2 separate regions of the Homo sapiens genome follow, and region 1 is linked to region 2. Evidence: promoter capture Hi-C in 16 types of primary human blood cells and fetal thymus (Javierre and others, 2016). All regions are on one chromosome and are shown on one strand. Each heading gives the region's core, a stretch centred on a gene start or on the middle of the fragment in contact. The rest is flanking DNA. Distances are from core to core; before and after follow the strand shown.

Region 1 (6,071 bases), core at 1,886-4,385, 1.0 Mb after region 2:
GGCAAGCGCGTGAGAAGGGAGCTGGGGGTCCTAGGCAAGCGCGTGAGAAGGGGAAGAGGCGGCGGCGTCCTCTCCAGCTGGGCTTAGAATACTCTTAGTTCTGCCTTTGGGGTCTTGTCTTCCTTTCTGGGCCTCCTGCCTGTGTTAACTTTGATGGGTGCTGAAGGGAAGGCCGGGGTCCCGGCAGGAGAAACCCGGGAACGTCGCGGCCGTCCAGGCTCCCCTGGCGGGTTGGAGCCAGGGTTCTGACTGCCAACTGTGGTCCTTCCCGCTGCGGCTGTGGCTGCCAGGGCGAGGGCGGTCAGCGCAAACCTGGCTGAGGACATTTCGGATTCTTCCTTGGGGATTCGTTCCCTTCTCCTTGACTCCGGTGCCGCGAGGGCGACACCCTCCGGGCCCCGCGTGGCCACCCCGGGCGCTTCCCCACGCGGATGAACCCACCTCCTGGGCGCCTTCCCCTCGGTGCCCCGCTCGCCAATTGGAGGCTGCAGCTCAGCCCCCTGACAACCTGAGCCAACCAGAGGCGCCAGGGAGGGGCGGATCCTCTGTCCCCACCTTCCTCCGGAAAGAGGAAGCGGAAGTGACGTTAGGGGAAGGTGGGGGCAATCATGGTGCCGCTGGGGAGGGGAGAAGCTGCTGCTGCCGCCGTTGCCGGGAGCCGCGGAGGTAAAAGGCGAAACTAGACTCGGCCTGGGCTTGGGACTTACCGGGAGGCGCGGGACTTAGGCTCCCTCCTGAAGCATTTCCCAATAGAGACCTCAGTTTGGTCACCATAGGGACCCCACCCCTTCTCCGTTTCCATGGGGATGGGTATCCAGCCCCCCTTCCCTGTTTCCATGGAGACCCGGACCCTGCCCCTCTCCTCCTTGCTTGGAGACCCCCAGCTTGTCTTCGGATTTTTCTGTGTAGCCCTGTGCTGGGGGCTATCCCAGACAGGTTCCTTTTCCCAGCCTCCTCTCAAGGGGGCTCTGTTCGCACTCCTCGTTGGCTACCCTCAAACCTCCTGGTCTTGTTTGTTTCGGACAGTTGGTCTCCGCGTTGCCGCCGAGGGTGCCGGGGCAGCCCACTGGGGCCCTCGGTGCTCTTCTCTCTCTGCTCAGATGCAGCGAAATGTACATCTGTGGGGTTGCGTAAGCCAGAGCTAGGGGTCGGGCCGGTACCTCCCGGATCCAATCCTTTGGCCTGTCTCTGGTAACTGTCTAGCCATCCCACTAAGTAAAGGCTCACTTTCTAACCCAGAGCAGAAGAGAAAGATAAAGCGCAAAGCCAGACTGAAAACTAAAAGGGATGTGCTGATTATTTTAAAATTCTCTATTCTGCCTGCCAAACCCACATTTGTAGAGCCTGTGTTTGCAGATGAAGGAAGAATCACTATTCCAGAACATGAAAGCTTCAAATGTGGTATTTTTCTCAAGAGAATGTATCTTCCCAAGATAGTATATCTTCACGAGAGAGTAGGTAGCCATGTCTTTCAGTCATTTAGCTGACATTTCCTGAACTCTTATCATAGTATCAGTGTACTATGCTAGGAGCTGTAGAAACAAAAATAATAAGACTCAATTGATTCAGGGACGAGAGCCCACCACAGAACCATAACTTCTTGTTGACACCATATTGTTTTAGGACATAAATAGATACAGTGATCTTCGTTGTTTGTGCCTGATTGAGGAATAGCCCTTCCACCCAGAAGGTTGAAACATCTGTTCTAGGTAGGGGGGAAGGAATTCATACTTGTTCCTCTACTATTTACCAAACATTGTGCTTTACATATGTTGCCTCTTTTATTTCTTATAAAAACTTTGAGAGAACAGGAATTACTGGTCCCACCTTGCACGTAAGAAAAATGAGGCACAGAAAAGTTACCCATGTAGTAAAAGGCAAAGACAGGATTTGTAGGTAGATGACTCTGCCTCCAAAGCCTTGCTCCTTCTACCATAAACTGCATGAAACCATTTACTGCCTCGTGGTCTGATTTGGAGGATATTTGAATGGATGGAGTTTCCCTTAAGATTTGTAGCAACTCAGCCTTTCAGCAGCTGCTGTTCTGTTTGCTCTTTTGTCCCCTTTAAATATTTTGACCAAGTTTCAAATTGTTTGACAGGCGTATTCAGAAGGTCTTATGAACTTATTCAGTTTTTGAAAAGCATTGCTTTTCTTTCTTTTTCTTTTTTTTTTTTTTTTATTAGAGATGGGGGTCTCACTATGTTGACCAGGCTGATCTCAAACTCCTGGCCTCAAGCGATCCTCCCATCTTAGCCTCCCAAAGTGTTGGGATTACAGGTGTGAGCCACCACGCCCAGTCGGCATTGCTTTTCTTTAAAAATGACTTGATGGTTTTAAAGTTAAAATAAAAAAATTATTCCCAAGGATGGTTTTTCATTTGCTTTGGCTTGCTCTTTAAGTGAGAGGGAAAATGAGCCTTGTGGTTGCTGAGGAGGTCCGTCGGTCTTGTGGTATGACTCTAACTCTGGCTTTGTTCTGTTGCAGACAAGTCATTACGTTTTCATTTCTCACAACTGGGCTGAGCACAACTGAACCATGGGGGAACACAGTCCAGACAACAACATCATCTACTTTGAGGCAGAGGAAGATGAGCTGACCCCCGATGATAAAATGCTCAGGTTTGTGGATAAAAACGGACTGGTGCCTTCCTCATCTGGAACTGTTTATGATAGGACCACTGTTCTTATTGAGCAGGACCCTGGCACTTTGGAGGATGAAGATGACGACGGACAGTGCGGAGAACACTTGCCTTTTCTAGTAGGGGGTGAAGAGGGCTTTCACCTGATAGATCATGAAGCAATGTCCCAGGGTTATGTGCAGCACATTATCTCACCAGATCAGATTCATTTGACAATAAACCCTGGTTCCACACCCATGCCAAGAAATATTGAAGGTGCAACCCTCACTCTGCAGTCGGAATGTCCGGAAACAAAACGTAAAGAAGTAAGTAAAGCAGTCAGTGAGGGCCTAGTTTGGTTTTGGGGCAAGTCCTTACAAAATTCTTGGTGCAAATTTTAGCTGGGGAGTAAAGGAGTGCATGGGGTTAGGACTTAAGTAGTTTTGCTATCAACAACATATGCCTCAGGTTTTGTTGTGATTGCTTCTGGAACTTTTGGTTTGTATAGCCACATTGAAATTTGGGAATATCAAATTGTAATTTCTCGAATTTCCTTCCCCAAATCATAAATAAAACAGAAATTTCACTTAAGTAGACCCATGTTTCTGGTGCTAAAATAACTATTTAGCTTATCTACAGGGAAATAACTGGAGTTTGCTTATTTGATGAAGAAATAACTATATTTGGCTTATCTCCTGGTTGTGTTTAAATGATTTGTTTTAGAGATGAGTATCTGCTGGAATATGTTTTATTATCTTAGTGAATGTTTAATGAACTTTTATTTCACAGTGGCACACGCCTGTAATCCCAGCACTTTGGGAGGCTGAGGCGGGTGGATCATTTGAGGTCAGGAGTTCGAGAGCAGCCTGGCCAACATGGTGAAACCCTGTCTCTGCTAAAAATACAAAAATTAGCCAGGCTTGGTGGCACATGGCTGTAATCCCAGCTACTCAGGAGGCTGAGGCAGGAGAATCACTTGGACCCGGGAGGCAGAGGTTGCAGTGAGCCGAGATCATGCCACTGTACTCCAGCCTGGGCGATAGAGTGAGACTCCATCTAAAAAAAAAAAAAAAAAAAGAAAGAAATTCAGGCTGGGCACAGTGGCTCATGCCTGTAATCCTAACACTTTCTGTAATCCCAGCACTTTGGGAGGCCGAGGCAGGTGGATCACCTGAGGTTAAGAGCACCCTGGCCAACATGGTGAAACTCCATCTGTACTAAAAATAGAAAAATTAGCCAGGCATAGTGGCGGGTGCCTGTAATCCCAGCTATTTGGGAAGCTGAGGCAGGGGAATTACTTGAATCTGGGAGGTGGAGGTGGCAGGGAGCCAAGATCGTGCCACTGCACTCCAGGCTGGATGAGAGAGAGAGACTCAGTCTCAAAAAAAAAAAAAAAAAAAAAAAAAGGAAATTCAGGCAAGAGACAGTAAATGAGAGCAGGTTATCTAAAATAAGTTTTCATTTTCATGTTTAGCTAATGTGAGTAAGCTAATGCATGTCAGGATGTTTTGAAAACTGTAAAGCATTTTACAAATTATATTAGTGGTTATTATTAGCAGAATAAAAGTTCTGGTTTAAAGGTAGTGATATACATTATCTAGGAACTATTTTTTTTTTTGAGATGGAGTTTCACTCTTGTTGCCTAAGCTGGAGTGCAGTGGTGCGATCTTGGCTCACTGCAACCTCTGCCTCCTGGGTTCTAGCAATTCTCCTGCCTCAGCCTCCTGAGTAGCTGGGATTACAGGCACGCACCACCATGCCCAGCTAATTTTTTGAATTTTTAGTAGAAATGAGGTTTCACCATGTTAGCCAGGCTGGTCTCGAACTCTTGACCTCAGGTGATCCACCTGCCTTGGCCTTCCAAAGTGCTGGGATTACAGGCATGAACCACCATGCCCGGCCCATCCAGGAACTATTACAGGTCAATTAGAAAAAAATAAGTCACTAGTAGTTACAGTACCAAGGACTAAGATGTTACCAAACAGAAATAGGGTGAATGATTTAGCAAGGAATATCTTTTTTGCTGTGGTTGAGGTCTTAAAATTGCATATGGCTTATTGATGGCATATCACTTTTCCTTTGCTAGCCTTAGAGAGACCATCTTGTCCCACCTCCTACCCTATGCAGAAATCTCCCTATGGCATCCCTGACATCAGTTAATCTTGTTTCTGCTTGAAGACATCCAGAACAACAAGAGCAGAGTGTTTCATACCCCAACCCAATACATTTGTTAGCCAGCTCTGATTGTTAGAAAGCTTTTACTTGTATAGAACCAAAACCTGCCTTTCTGCAGGTGCTGCCCACTGGTTCTAGATCTGCCTTCCTGAGTAAACTTTCTCCCACAGAACAGTCCATCAGCTATTTGAAGATCATGGATTTTTCTTCCTCTTGTACAGGCTAACCACCTCCATTTACTTAAATGTCCCTCTGTGACATTTTCCCCAGTCTCTCATCAGCCTAGTCACCTTTGATTATATGAATTCCAGTTTTCCAAGGTCCTTTTTTTCTTCTTTTTTTGAGATGGAGTTTTGCTGTTGTTGCCCAGGCTGGAGTGCAGTGGCGTGATCCCGGCTCACTGCAACCTCCGCCTCCCAGGTTCAAGCGATTCTCCTGCCTCAGCCTCCCAAGTAGCTGGGATTACAGGCATGCGCTACCACACCCAGCTAATTTTGTATTTTTAGTAGAGACAGGGTTTCTCCATGTTGGTCAGGCTGATCTCGAACTCCTGACCTCAGGGGATATGCCTGCCTTGGCCTCCCAAAGTGCTGGGATTACAGGCATGAGCCACCGCGCCCGGCCCCAGAGTCCTTTTAAAATCTGCAGTTGAGCGCAGTCTCATAAGTGTGAGTCAACTAGCACTGAATACAGTATGGCTCTTATCTCTTAATCTGGACACTGTACTACAATTACTATATAGTCTACATTTTATCAGCAACATCTTACTGTTAGCTTATAGTTGGAAATTTCTAGAGTAGTGCTTCTTAACTGCGGGCAGCTTTGCCCTCAGGAGATGTTTGGCAATGTCTAGAAACATTTTGTATTGTCATACTGTGGAGGCGATACTGGAATCTAGTGGGTAGAGGTTAAAGACATTGTTAAATGTTTTACAGTGCACAGGACAGCCCCCTACAACAAAGAACTGGCCCAAAATAGTGATAGTGCTGGGATTGAGAAACCCTGCTCTAGATTATTCTCATGTATGCAGCTGTCAGATCTAACAAAAATGAAAATGGAGACCTGCATGTAAGCCTTATTAAGAATATCTCCCGGCTGGACATGGTGGCTCACGCCTGTAATCCCAACACTTTGGGAGGCCAAGGCTGGTGGATCACCTGAGGTCAGGAGTTCGAGACTAGCCTGGCCAACACAATGAAACCCTGTGTCTATTAAAAATACAAAAAATTAGCCGGGCGTGGTGGCAGACGCCTGTAATCCCAGCTACTCTGGAGAC
Region 2 (6,104 bases), core at 2,490-4,989:
ACTATATTCTTGTTTGTTAGTCCTTTTTCCTTTCTTTGGGTAGACCTACAGTCAGATGTTTTGTTTTATGGATCACTTATTTTCCTTACTGGTAGACTGTCGTTTTATAGACATATTCCTATTTCATATATTCTCTCCCTGTTGTTAGAGAACCTATCTTTGTTTTTGGTCAAAACACACATAGAAAACAAAATGATCCAATGAAAACTGGTTTAACTAGCAAAAGCCTTGGCACCTGTTGGAGACTATGACCAAGCCAATAAAAAGGGCATTTAAATCAGCCCTGTTAGTAGGAATGTGGCTATGGCTGGTGCCTCTTCTAGTCACAAGTTTGTTTTTGGAGGGGGTCCAGAAGATCATTCCCTTGCATAGATTTCTCTTTTACCAATTTGAGTGCCTCCTACATGGGCAGCAGTGGACTAAGTGCTGGGTGTGATAAAGAGGAATGACTTAATTATGAGACTGTATATAATCAAATACAGTGTGGGTTAGGACCTGTGGCAGACCATTATAATAAAGCATGGCCCCGTGAGGGTTTTGAAAGAGAGAGAGACTTGGCTTCCTTAGTTGGTATGATAGTTTCTTGGTAGATACAGGTTGAAAATTTTTTGTGGCAGCCAATCCTCATGGGCTTTTTACTCATTTGATTAGTATTAATATTTATGTCAGTAAGCCAGGTGACTGTGACTGTCTTTGGTACCATCCTTTTTGAACAGAAAGGCAACATGTGGGTTGGATAATCACACTTTTAGGTGAAACTGACTTGCTTAAACTGTAACAGTCAGTGCTATTTAAGAATTCAGGATAAGCTTAGCCTCTAGAGGTCCTCTTCAACATTTCTGTCAAGGATTTGGATGAATACAACAAGATGCTCCATGGAAGAGAAAATGGATAAATGGATCCCACCAGTTAAGCTCCTATTATGCTTCAGCTGCTTTGTCTATAAAATATCGACTTCACATCTTGCCTATCTCACAAGTTGGTTGTAAGAATCAAATTAAATATAATGGATGTAAAAGTGCCTTGCAAACTGTAAAGGATTACATACAGACCAGATGGTGGTAGTGCCAAATCTGTAAGTGACACAAATTGGAAAGTCTGGTTGGAAGACTATATTGAAACAAGCTTTAAAATGATTAACCACGTGGAATACCCAAACTGCTGGGCCTAAACCAAAAAGTTGAAGTATCAAGTCTTACATTTAGGTTAAAAAATGCAGTTATACACATTTAGGCACTAGGATTGCTGACAAAGTATTAGTTACAGTGATTATCAATGTGACCCACCCTATGGATGCTTAAAAAAAATTACATTCTGGAAAGCAGGAATAGAAATACTGTCTAGGTGTTAAATGGTCATTCTGAAAGTTGTACTGTTTAGTATTGCTTTGTAGGAGTCAGATGTTTGATGGATATTGACAAGCTGGAATGCATATAAAGAGTGACCAATAGAGGATTTGAATATATAAGGCTGGGCTCTCCGATTTGGTACACACTAGCTGCAAGTGGCAGTTAAAAATTTAAGTTCCTGGTGGGGTGCCGTGGCTCACACCTGTAATCTCAGCATTTTGGGAGGCCATGGAGGGTGGATCTTGAGGTCAAGAGATAGAAACCATCCTGGCCAACATGGTGGAACCCCGTCTGTACTAAAAATAAAAAAATTAGCCGGGTGTGGTGGTGGGCACCTGTAGTCCCAGCTACTCAGGAGGCTGAGGCAGGAGAATCGCTTGAACCCGGGAGGTAGAGGTTGCAGTGAGCTGAGATCGCGCCACTGCACTCCAGCCTGGCGACAGAGCGAGACTCCATCTCAAAAAAAAAAAAAAAAAAAAAAAAAAAAATTCCTCAGTTACACTAGCAACAATTCAAGTGCTTATTCCTCATAGGACTAGCGGCTACATGTTTGACAGTGCAGATAAAGAACATGTCTATCATGTATATCAGTTGTATTGAACAGCACGATAGGAATGGTTGAAACTGAGGATGTTCAGCAAGGAACAGAGAAGACTTAGTGGGTAATGAATACTGCAATCTGGTATTTGAAGGGCTGTCATGAAAAAGGTGAAGACTATTCCTATTTTATTCTATTATAGGCTTCAGGGAGTGTGGTTTGGCTTTAAGACTTTTTTTTTTTTTTGAGACGGAGTCTCGCTCTGTCGCCAAGGCTGGAGTGCGGTGGCGCGATCTCGGCTCACTGCAAGCTCCGCCTCCTGGGTTCAAGCCATTCTCCTGCCTCAGCCTCCCGAGTAGCTGGGACTACAGGCGCCCGCCACCACGCCCGGCTAATTTTTTGTATTTTTTTAAGTAGAGATGGGGTTTCACCATGTTAGCCAGGATGGTCTCGATCTCCTGACCTCATGATCCGCCCGCCTCTGCCTCCCAAAGTGCTGGGATTACAAGCGTGAGCCACCGCGCGGCCGGCTTTAACAATTTTTAAACAAAGGTTTACCACAGTGGAGTTGGCTGCCTTTCGAGATGGTGAGCTCTTTTACCTTCGAACTATTTAAGTGCATTCTGCATGTCTATTAGACACTATAGAGTTGGTTCGTTTTAGGTGAGAGGTTGGGCTAGATGACCTCTAAGGGTGTATCCTACCTCTAACTTCTGGGTTCAGACAAAACCAAAGTCCCAGACCTGCCCGCATGTGCGAATTTTTCCTTCATAATCAAGAAGTCAGTCTCCTTGGAGGGCTGGGAGCACCCCCACTCCTGTACTTTAAAAAGTGTATAGGGCTGTGCTTTAAGAGGATCCTCTTCTCAAACTTCCAGTTCTAGAGCCTGATTATCAAAAATAAAAATTCCTCTAGATTTCTCGGACATATTTGGTGACAAGCATTTGCTTTTGTTTGCTTTCATTATTCAATACTTTGGTCTCTAATCTGAACGAGGTCATAGAAGAGGCAGTGTTCTATGGGGGATGGAATTCCTAGAGTAGACTTTGACAAGGCGGGAAGGAGGGCAAATTGAGTCCCGTTGGGTTTGAAGTGGCAGCAGTATCCACTATCGGCGACTTACTGAAGAAAGAAGATAAGATGTTCTAGCTTGGCTGCATCTGCTTTCCCATCAGGGTCCAGCTACCTGCTAGAACAAACTATCACGGTGACCCATGACTCTGCCTTGGTTGAGGTTTGCCCTCAGTGTGGCTGGCTCCCCCATACCTTTGCACATCCCAATCTATCCATCCACCTAGATCTGCTCAGACGCTTTCTCATTCAACTCCCGAGCATTATTTATCCGTGACCTTCCCACATAATATTTCGTAGCGAGGTTACTTACGCAGAGGTCCGATCTCTCTGTTCATCTTCAAGCAACCTGAAGGCAGGCAGGGTCTGCGTCGGATCCAGTTCTGTGCCCCTTGGTAGGCACCCAGGACACTGCAGGCATCAATAAATATCGGTTGGGCAAGTACAGTTGCAGGATGAGGACAATCAATTCTTCCTCAAATGCCGGGAGAGCATCTCCATAGCGGTGCTCTGGGAGCCCGGAAGAAGGCAGGGGAGCGGTGCAGACAGCGTTGTATGCGGGCCGGGGCGGAGGGCTGAGGGCCCGAGCCGGGGCTAGAGGCGCGGCCGGGCCGCCCTCCTCGTGACTCCTCCTCCCCCCTCCGCGGCTCTGAGTCAGGTGATTCCGGCACGTGACGGGGCACCACCTACCCTGCTGCTCTCGAGTAGCAGCTCGGGCGGCCAATAAGCGGCTGGGCTTCGGCTCGGGGCCTATGAGAGCCGGGCTCCGGGGGGCGGGCCGGACTGTGGCGGCTGCCGGGGGCGGTGGCGGTGGTGGCGGCGGCGGCGGAGGCGGACTGGGGAGGCGGCGGCCTGGCTCGGCCTGGCCTGGCCTGTCAGGGCGCGGGCGGCGGCGGCTCCAGCACCATGTCCCTGCAGTACGGGGCGGAGGAGACGCCCCTCGCCGGCAGTTACGGCGCGGCCGATTCGTTTCCAAAGGACTTCGGCTACGGCGTGGAGGAGGAGGAAGAGGAGGCGGCGGCGGCGGGCGGAGGGGTTGGGGCAGGGGCAGGCGGTGGCTGTGGTCCGGGGGGCGCTGACAGCTCCAAGCCGAGGATTCTGCTCATGGGACTCCGGCGCAGCGGCAAGTCCTCCATCCAGAAGGTGAGCAGGGCTGCGCCCAGTCCCCCGCCCCCTCCCCGGTTCTCAGGTGGCCGGTAGCGGGGACGCCCGGGAGGGCGGCGGCCGGGGCCCGCCTGCGCTCCGTCCCTCCGCACTTTCTCTTCCACTCTTGCGAGCGCACAGGCGCGGCCCGCGCGGGGACCCCGACCTCTGTGTCCACGCCCAAGTCAGCTGAAGCCAAGTGGAGCGCTGAAGGCGAAACTGGTTGCCGGGAGGCAGGTGCCCGGTGGCACCGCCCAAGACCTCCGCCCCCTGGGACCCAGCTCCTGTGTCATTTACGAAACTGAGACGTACTCTCCAGTTCTCACTTGGAGAACTTCGTGGACTCCCTCCCCTGGCCCGTTTTGATTTGTTCTCACTTCAGGTGACCTGAGTGTTTCGGGATTCCCAGCAGAGCCCCAGGGAGCAGCGTCAGGAAGAGTTGTGACTAAGACACTGGGCGTTGTAATTCTCGCTACTGATGTGAAGGAGACTTCGCTGTAGCATTACTGGGAATTGGGTAGTGAGATTGCACCCATTTCAGTAGTTGTGGCCTGGTGAATGTAATTACTGGTGCTGTTCCCCCTGTAGGGGTGTGTTTTTAAAAATCTGAGACTTTGAGAATATTTTGCAGACCTAGTCTGTTTGTTTTCACTTTTGGGCCTTCATGAACAAATGGAGGGCTGTACACGTTTGTTTGTTTATGTTTTTGAGACGGAGTCTCTCGCTCTGTCGCCCAGGCTGGAGAATGCAGTGGTGCAATCTCGGCTCACTGCAACCTCCACCTCCCTGGTTCAAGTAATTCTCCCGCCTCAGCCTCCCGAATAGCTGGGATTACAGGCGCGCGCCACCACGCCCGGCTAATTATTGTATTTTTAGTAGAGACGGGGTTTCACCATGTTGGCCAGGGTCATCTCGAACTGCTGACCTCAAGTGATCATCCGCCTTGGCCTCCCAAAGTGCTGGGATTACAGGTGTGAGTCACCACGCTGGCCTACACTGTTTAGTGAGGGTTAAATAGAGGCAAGGTTGACTTCCTCCATCAGCCAAACCCATTATACGCGGAGTGAGCTGGTAATAAAACTAGTATCAGCAGGCACCTGGTCTTTTCACCTCTCCACTCTGTTGCAAAGGCCTATCCAAAATAAATCTGTGATTTTTTTTTCTTTCTGAATCTGTGATATTTTGTAGATGGGATCTTTTTAAAAAGCAGCGTTCTTCCAGGTTTGCTGGAGTACTGTGTTTTATTTACCTTGATTTTCACCTCTACAGCAAAACTTGGGTACGTTGACTGTAGGTTTTTAGTAAACTAATTTCAGTTATTCACATTTGTTACTGAGAAAACCTTGAGAGTAATTGTTCACTTTTCTCTTCTAGACAGTAAGAGGCAAAGTAGTTTTATGTTAGAACTGTGTAGGTTGTGATTATTGTGATCCTTTTTTTTTTGTTTGTTTGTTATGGAGTCTTGCTCATCGCCCAGGCTGGAGGGCAGTGGTGTGATCTTCACTCACTGCAGCCTCCACCTCCTGGGTTCAAGTGATTCTCCTGCCTCAGCTTCCCAAGTAGCTGGGACTACAGGCGTGCACCACCACGCCCGACTAATTTTGGTATTTTTAGTGGGGATGGGGTTTCACCATATTGGTCAGGCTGGTCTCGAACTCCTGACCTCAAGTGATCCGCCCGCCTCGGCCGCCTAAAGTGCTGGGATTGAAGGCGTGAGCCACCGCACCCGGGCCGATTATTGTGACTCTTAACAATTGCCTTTACGTTTCTTTTCTCATGAGAGCTATCTTTTCCCTGTCAGTCCCCGTGGCCTCCCCCTGGACGTTTTCACTTTCTACTTGGTATAGTTACTGCCCTTCTTAGACTGCAAAGTCAGTGAGGGCAGAGTCCAGTCTGTTTCACTTTTTAAATTACTCCTCAGAGCCTGAGGTAGGCATTCAAGTAATTTTTGAATAAACCAGACTTCTTAAGCTTTAGCTGTAAGACTTTTATAATCTTAAAGC

Evidence for each region. The method cuts DNA at HindIII sites, captures the fragments that hold promoters and counts their contacts. A CHiCAGO score of 5 or more calls a contact.
Region 1: a contact is called between a fragment that was not itself captured here and the fragment with the promoter of RRAGC in region 2, in 3 of 17 cell types (naive CD8 T cells, naive B cells and neutrophils). The highest score is 5.6, in naive CD8 T cells.

Annotation. Positions count from the first base shown.
Region 1 is chr1:37,854,126-37,860,196 of GRCh38, reverse strand. It overlaps MTF1 (metal regulatory transcription factor 1), which reads left to right and starts at 605. Exons shown (of 11, transcript NM_005955.3): 1 at 605-666; 2 at 2,488-2,946. The coding sequence starts at 2,539. RefSeq lists a silencer at 339-668. The HindIII fragment of the contact is 3,485 bases long and covers 1,393-4,877 here.
Region 2 is chr1:38,857,407-38,863,510 of GRCh38, reverse strand. RRAGC (Ras related GTP binding C) reads left to right here and starts at 3,739. Exons shown (of 7, transcript NM_022157.4): 1 at 3,739-4,101. The coding sequence starts at 3,865. It overlaps RRAGC-DT (RRAGC divergent transcript), which reads right to left and starts at 3,618. Exons shown (of 2, transcript NR_186075.1): 1 at 3,272-3,618. MYCBP (MYC binding protein) reads left to right here. Exons shown (of 5, transcript NM_012333.5): 5 at 1-1,018. GJA9-MYCBP (GJA9-MYCBP readthrough) reads left to right here. Exons shown (of 3, transcript NR_037637.1): 3 at 1-1,021. RefSeq lists an enhancer at 3,520-3,814 and a silencer at 3,450-4,209. The HindIII fragment of the contact is 4,947 bases long and covers 1,128-6,074 here.